Linked DNA regions of Homo sapiens: region 1 is linked to region 2. Evidence: promoter capture Hi-C in 16 types of primary human blood cells and fetal thymus (Javierre and others, 2016). All regions are on one chromosome and are shown on one strand. The core of a region is centred on a gene start or on the middle of the fragment in contact, and the rest is flanking DNA. Distances in the headings are between cores, read along the strand shown. Region 1 overlaps DNAJC16 (DnaJ heat shock protein family (Hsp40) member C16). Region 2 holds the start of RSC1A1 (regulator of solute carriers 1).

Region 1 (3,995 bases), core at 435-2,934, 100 kb before region 2:
AGCTTTTTCAAAGAACCAGTTTTGTCTTTGTTAATTCTTCTTCTTATATTAATATATTCATTTCTTGTTTCATTAATTTCTATTTTTATCTGTATTATTTCCTTTCTACTTTTATATTTTTGCTGTTTTTGACTTGACAGATGTTTATTTCATTAACTTCTTTTCTATTATGTTAATTGTAAAATTCCCCTTCAAGTACTACTTTATATGTATCTCAGAGTTCTTATAAATAGTATTTTTCATCAGTCATTAAAGTTCAAAATATTTTCTAATATCTGATAGGCGTTCTTGTTTTGGTTTTTTTTTTTTCTTTTTTAGTCAGTCTTGCTCTGTCACCCAGGCTGGAGTGTAGTGATGTCATCATGGCTCACTGCAGCCTTGGCCTCCTATGCTCAAGTGATCCTCACCCTTCAACCTCCCAAGTAGCTGGGACTACAGGCACATGCCACCATGCCCAGCTAACAACTTTTTTTTTCCTTTTTTTTCTTTTATGAGACAGGGTTTCACTCCCGTTGCCCAGGCTGGTATGCTCTCCCAGCCTCAAGCAGTCCTCCTGCCTCAGCCTCCTGAGTAGCTGGGACTAAGGCCACGCCTGGCTAATTTTTGTACTTTTAGTAGAGACAGGGTTTCACTATGTTGCACAGGCTGGTCTTGAACTCCTGACCTCAAGTGATCCACCTGCCTTGACTTCCCAAAGTGCTGGGATTACAGGCATGAGCCACCATACCCAGCCCTTTTTTTTTTTTTTTTTTTTTTTTCTTGAGACAGGGTCTCAGTCTGTCACACAGGCTAGAGTCCAGTGGTGTGATCCTAGCTCACTGCAGTCTCTTAAGTCTTGGGCTCAAGCAGTCCTCCCACCTCCACCTCCCAGGTAGCTGGGATTGCAGGCATGCACCACCATCATGCCTGGCTAATGTTTTTTTATTTTTAGTAGAGACAAGATCTCATTATGTTGCCCAGGCTGGTCTCGATCTTCTAAGCTCAAGCAATCCTCCTGCTTCGGCCTCCCAAAGTTCGGGGATTATAGGAGTGAGCCACTGTGCCTGGCCTTTTGTTTGTTTGTTTTTAATTTTTTGTAGAGATGGGATCTCTCCATGTTGCACAGGCTGGTCTCTAACTCTTGGGTTCAAGGGATCCTCTTGCCTTGGCCTCCCAAAGCATTTGGGTTAGAGGAATGAGCCTCCATACCTGGCCGTGTTTCTTAATTTCCAAACATAAAGGGAAATGTTTACATTTCTGGTTTGCATTTTAAATGGAATTCTAGGTTAATTACCTTGTGGTCAGAATACCTGCTGTCAATGATTTCAATCCTTTGAAATGTGTGAAAGTTAGCAATAAAATGGTCACACGGTTTTGTAACCTGCCTTTTATACTTTGCAACATTGTTGCTTTGGGATTTATTTTTAATTGCCCAGTTCGCTACAAATCCTGAATGGAAATAATTTTGCCTAAAATTCAAAATGATTGACTTTTCGTTTTGGGTTTTTGTTTTGTTTTGTGTTTGGTTTTGTTTTGTTTTTGAGATGGAGTCTCGCTCTGTCGCCCAGGCTAAAGTGCAGTGGCGTGATCTCGGCTCACTGCAACCTCCGTCTCCCAGGTTCAACTGATTCTCTTGCCTCAGCCTTCCAAGTAGCTGGGACTACAGACACACGTCACCATGCCTGGCTAATTTCTGTATTTTTAGCAGAGACGGGGTTTCACTATGTTGGCCAGGCTGGTCTCAAACTCCTGACCTCGTGATCTACCCACCTCAGCCTCCCAAAGTTCTAGGATTTCAGATGTGAGCCACCACGTCCGGCCATGACTGACTTTTTTAATTTGTCAGCATAAAACAGTGAATAAAAATTCTCCAGTGGAAAGTGTACTTGATTTTCCCTTTGACCCGAAATAGCTGCATCATTGCTTTCAGCCCTGCATTGCTGAAATAGATCACCACATGTTTATTCGCTCAAACAGGTCTGTCTTGTTTGGTTATATTACTTTAGCCAAGGTCAGCTACGTTTTTATTAAGCTGGTAAGTAAAGAAAGCCCATCTATTTGCATTGAGAACACTGCATAAAATCTAGCTGATTCTTGGTTTTTCTCTAGGCCCGAGGTATGAAGAAGCAAATCATTGACGACTTCATCACCCGAAACAAATATCTATTGGCAGCCAGGCTCACCAGCCAGAAGTTGTTCCATGAACTCTGCCCTGTGAAACGGTCGCATCGACAGAGGAAGTAAGGACTTAAGGCTTTGCCTCTGCTTGTTATTACAATAGAAGGATCATGATTCATTTTACTATAGGGTGACTAGACATCTGCCCTGTAACATTGAGAACTTATTCTTCATTTAACAAATACTGGGCCGGGCATGGTGGCTCATGCCTGTAATCCCAGCACTTTGGGAGGCCGAGGAGGGCGGATCATCTGAGGTCCGGAGTTCAAGACCAGCCTGACCAACATGGAGAAACCCCATCTCTACTAAAAATACAAAATTAGCCGGGCATGGTGGCTTATGCCTGTAATCCCAGCTACTAGGGAGGCTGAGGCAGGAGAATCACTTGAACCTGGGAGGCAGAGGTTGCGGTGAGCCGAGATCATGCCATTGCACTCCAGCCTGGGCAACAAGAGTGAAACTCTGTCTCAAAAAAAAAAAAAAAAAAAACACTGATTAGTGACTGTGATGGTAATCATACTAATATGATGTATTAGTCCAGGGCACTTTAGCACCAAATTGTCAGATGTGCCAGCCTGTCCTAGTGGTCAGAGAAGATTTCCCTAAGATGTAACATTTCAGCTGAGACCTGAAGGATGAGCACAGTTTAGCCAGGCGTCTGGGATAGACTGGGTCACTTTACAGAAGCACAGAATATGGAAGAGTGACTGTCCCTACTAAAGCATTCCACACAGGGTGAGTCTTTGGAGGTCTTGGGAAGGAGCAAGGATAACAATTAAACAGTAGGGAAGTACAGAGTATTGAGGAAATGGATTGGTGGGAATCGGGAAGGCTAAGTTACATGTATTCAATAAAGTAGGAAGAGTTATTATACAAAGTATCTAAAAAGTCTAGAAATTCAGGGAATGTATTCATTACACCTTCTCAGGTGAATGAATCAGTAGCTTTAAATTTAGGGCTGTTTCATCTGTAAAAGGTATCTGGATATGGAAGGAAAACATATCAATCATGTAACTTGAAAATATAAAACATAATTTCCCTGTGTGTCTAGGCTTTTCAGATTCCTTTATAGTCTTAAGAGCGAAGAAAAAAATGACTTAAATATAAAAAAAGAATATCCTGGACTGTAAGGATTGTTGTTTACACAGCCTTCAAAAAATATCCCAAATCCACACACTTCTCACTTTTTTTAACCACTGCCACCCTGGAACAAGCCACCATCGTCTCCCAGCGAGACCCCCCTGGCAGCCTTCTAACTAGTCTCTCTGCTCCATTCCACTCTTGTACCCTCCAGGCAGATGTCCACACGTCAGCCAATAATGTTTGAAAATGCAAATCAGATCCAGTCACTCCCCATCCTGGGGTCTTTGCACTTGTAGTCTCTCTACCTGGGATGCTCTGACCCCATTTCCTGTCATAACAATGTCACCTTTTCAGTTGGCACTTCCCTGACCAACCTGTCTGATGGAGCCTGGCTTCTACCCACTCTGGCCTCTCTCTGTCCCCTTTTCATCTTTTTTTTTTTTTTTAATATATAGCACTTGTTGATACCTGTCATAATATATCTGTTTTCTGTCTTCCCCACTGGAATATAAGCTCCATGAGGGCAATAATATTGTCTATATTACCTGACATATACTAAGTGCTCAGTAAATATTTTTGGGAGAATGAATAGCTAAACTTTCCATTGGAACCTTGCAAAGGAAGCCGTTCAGAATGAGGCTCAGTGGCCTCTGGCCTGAGAGAGATTTGACCAGCCCTCCCTATACTGGAAGAACTAGGACAAATAGTTTCTAAAAGGCCCTGCCGGCCAGGAACAGTGGCTCACGCCTATAATC
Region 2 (3,919 bases), core at 96-2,595:
TCGAACTCCTGACCTCAGGTGATCCACCTGCCTCGGCCTCCCAAAGTGCTGGGATTACAGGCATGAGCCACTGTGCCCAGCCCTTTTTGATTTTTAATTAAAGATCTTACAATGGTCGGGTGCGGTGGCTCTTGCCTGTAATCCAAGCACTTTGGGAGGCTGAGGCGGGCGGATCACCTGAGGTCAAGAGTTTGAGACCACCCTGACCAACGTGGAGAAACCTCATCTCTACTAAAAATGCAAAATTAGTCGGGTGTGTGGCGCATGCATGTAATCCCAGCTACTCTGAGGCAGGAGAATCGCTTGGACCCGGGAGGCGGAGGTTGCGGTGAGCTCAGATGGCGCCATTGTACTCCTGTCTGGGCAACAAGAGCAAAACACAGTCTTAAAAAAAAAAAAAAATTCTTACACTTACATGCGTAGAGGTCAATTTTTAACTGGATTGGTGGCAAAAGAAGAGCTGGAAATGATGTTTAATGATACTATGATGCTTACACTGAGCCGTCTTGTTTGGGTGGTCTAAGGTAGCAGTGAATCTAAATAGTCATTGCCAGTTGAAAAACTATTAATGAACCATCTCCCTCCACATTCCCCTTTCTTTAAAACATTTAAATATTCTTAACTTAGTTGCACACTATTGATGTGATAAAAACTTATAAGCCTTTTAAGTTTAGAGTTGTATTATTTGGTAGGATGATGATTGTGATTTAATCTGCTGATCATTAGTTTACTTTTGTTTTCTGAGTCAGATGCTCACCCAGTTTTACCATGATTTTTGGAAAGCTTGGCTAGAAATAAAATAGAACATTTGCTTCTCTGTCCCCAAGCATTATGTTATTTCTTATTTCTCTTTATAATTCCCTCTCTGTCCAGGTATACCTGGTTTAAGACTTCTCATTTGTAACCTCAGTGTTCACATTTGAAACAAGAAAAGTGCATTAACATGAGAATCATTCTGGTGCAAAGATTCTCAGGATTTGTAATATCCTTAAGAATCACCCAAGGAGCTTATTGAAAATGCACATTCCTGGATTTACTCTCAAGTATGGTACCCCAGGGTCTGCATACTTCACAAGCGTCCCTGGTGGTTTTAGGGCAAGTGGTGAAAAAAGTACACTTGGAGAAACTATTCTAGAGTTGTAGACTAGACTAGGGAATAAAGAAACATAAATGTCCTTCATTCCTGAGCACTAACCCCGCCATTATGTGAATGCATATTAATGGATACTTAATCACATTGAATTACAGTATGCAGATTTTATTAAGAACATGTCTACCTCTTATTCTGATGCTGTGAATGTCTACCACAATGAGAAAGTAATTTTAAAATCATTTCTATTTGTGTAAGAGAAACCCGAGTTTGAGGACCTTATTTTATTCTACGCTGTTTAGATTTGTATCCTCTGGTAATTTAGTGGCATTAGTCACCTGCTAATTAATCTTTTTCCTTTCCCCTGTGTTCCATATAGAGAAAAGTGGTAAAGAATCTACCTCACTGGGAATGTCATCATTACCAACTTCAGATGGGTTTAACCATCCCGCCCGTTCTTCAGGACAGAGTCCTGATGTTGGTAATCCTATGAGTCTTGCTCGCTCTGTCTCTGCTTCAGTCTGCCCTATCAAGCCCAGTGACTCAGATCGCATTGAACCTAAAGCTGTGAAGGCTTTGAAGGCTTCAGCTGAATTCCAGCTAAACTCTGAAAAGAAAGAACATCTTTCTTTACAAGATCTTTCTGATCATGCTTCCTCAGCAGACCATGCTCCAACAGACCAGAGTCCAGCTATGCCTATGCAGAATTCATCCGAAGAAATAACTGTTGCAGGTAATCTGGAGAAATCTGCTGAAAGAAGCACCCAGGGCCTCAAATTTCATCTCCATACAAGACAGGAAGCTAGTTTATCTGTCACATCTACTAGGATGCATGAACCACAGATGTTTCTAGGTGAAAAGGATTGGCATCCAGAAAATCAGAACCTGAGTCAAGTGAGTGACCCTCAGCAGCACGAAGAACCAGGGAATGAACAGTATGAGGTTGCACAACAAAAAGCTTCACATGACCAAGAATATCTTTGTAACATAGGGGACCTTGAGCTTCCTGAAGAAAGGCAACAGAATCAACACAAAATTGTTGATTTGGAAGCTACGATGAAAGGAAATGGGCTCCCACAGAATGTGGATCCTCCAAGTGCGAAGAAAAGTATTCCATCTTCAGAATGCAGTGGCTGCTCAAATTCAGAAACATTTATGGAAATCGATACAGCTCAACAGTCCCTAGTTACTTTGCTTAATTCAACAGGCAGGCAGAATGCCAATGTCAAGAACATTGGTGCATTGGATCTCACTTTAGATAATCCCTTGATGGAAGTAGAAACATCAAAATGTAACCCTTCATCTGAAATTTTGAATGATTCCATTTCCACTCAGGATTTACAGCCCCCAGAAACTAATGTTGAAATACCTGGAACAAATAAAGAATATGGCCATTACTCCTCTCCAAGTCTCTGTGGCAGTTGTCAGCCTTCTGTGGAGTCAGCAGAAGAATCTTGCCCGTCTATAACGGCAGCCTTGAAAGAACTTCATGAACTTTTGGTTGTTAGCAGTAAACCAGCTTCAGAAAATACATCTGAAGAAGTAATCTGTCAATCAGAAACCATAGCTGAGGGCCAAACCAGTATTAAAGACCTTTCTGAAAGATGGACCCAAAATGAGCATCTTACCCAGAATGAACAGTGTCCACAAGTCTCCTTTCATCAGGCCATATCTGTATCAGTGGAGACAGAAAAATTAACAGGTACTTCATCTGACACTGGAAGAGAAGCTGTAGAAAATGTAAACTTCAGGAGTCTAGGTGATGGCCTGTCAACCGATAAGGAAGGTGTCCCCAAATCTAGGGAATCCATAAATAAGAACCGTTCTGTCACTGTAACCTCAGCTAAAACATCCAATCAGTTACACTGCACCTTAGGTGTAGAAATTTCACCCAAACTTTTAGCAGGTGAGGAGGATGCACTCAATCAGACTTCTGAGCAAACTAAGTCTTTGTCATCCAATTTCATATTGGTTAAAGACTTAGGTCAGGGCATACAGAATTCAGTAACAGACAGGCCTGAAACCAGAGAAAATGTCTGTCCTGATGCTTCGAGGCCATTACTTGAATATGAACCACCTACCAGCCATCCATCATCAAGTCCTGCCATTCTTCCACCATTGATTTTTCCTGCCACAGATATTGACCGCATTCTCCGTGCTGGCTTTACTTTGCAGGAAGCTCTTGGAGCTTTGCATCGAGTTGGTGGGAATGCAGACCTTGCACTTCTTGTTTTGCTCGCAAAAAACATCGTAGTTCCTACATGACTGTGGGAAAGTGGGCTAGACCGTTCTCCATTCCCTTTAAACAAAAGAAAGCTCTCTCTATATACACGCACACATACACACTCACCACATATACAGTATATATAGAAACCTGCAAGCAGAATGTTGAGCCAGATTTTTTTTAAAGATTTTTTTCGGCCAAAGTAATTTATGATCTTTTGTCTGATGAATTTGTCTATCCTACTTGTTAAAATTTAGGCCTTTTTAAATGTATTGGCAGTATGTGCATACAGAAGCTTTTTATTCTCATTAAGATGTATCCTGGAATAAAATGGATGGTTTTGTGTGTAGCATACTGTTTTAGAATGAGAGTAAATGCTTTGAAAAGCAGAAGCCATGAGAAATCCCACTACCCATCCAGCTAAAAACAGATGAACTCTCCACACTGTGACTGTGTGTCTGTGCTGATGGCAAGGTATGGTTTGCTGGCTCAGTTGTCAATTTAGAAACTTTTGACCACATAATTTGGTGTTTGGAATTCTACCCAGTGCTCTGTGTATCATGATTCATTAATTATAACAGGAAATTGGAGAATAATTGAATATC

What was found. The method cuts DNA at HindIII sites, captures the fragments that hold promoters and counts their contacts. A CHiCAGO score of 5 or more calls a contact.
Region 1: a fragment that was not itself captured here is called in contact with the fragment with the promoter of RSC1A1 in region 2 in 1 of 17 cell types (M2 macrophages); the score reaches 6.3 in M2 macrophages.

Annotation. Positions count from the first base shown.
Region 1 is chr1:15,557,438-15,561,432 of GRCh38, forward strand. It overlaps DNAJC16 (DnaJ heat shock protein family (Hsp40) member C16), which reads left to right. Exons shown (of 15, transcript NM_015291.4): 8 at 2,089-2,219. Among named protein-coding and RNA genes, the nearest start is that of AGMAT, 26 kb to the right of the region's middle. The HindIII fragment of the contact is 8,182 bases long and covers 1-3,995 here.
Region 2 is chr1:15,658,368-15,662,286 of GRCh38, forward strand. RSC1A1 (regulator of solute carriers 1) reads left to right here and starts at 1,346. Exons shown (of 1, transcript NM_006511.3): 1 at 1,346-3,666. The coding sequence starts at 1,502. The coding sequence ends at 3,355. DDI2 (DDI proteasomal shuttling factor 2) reads left to right here. Exons shown (of 10, transcript NM_032341.5): 10 at 1,470-3,919. The HindIII fragment of the contact is 1,265 bases long and covers 782-2,046 here.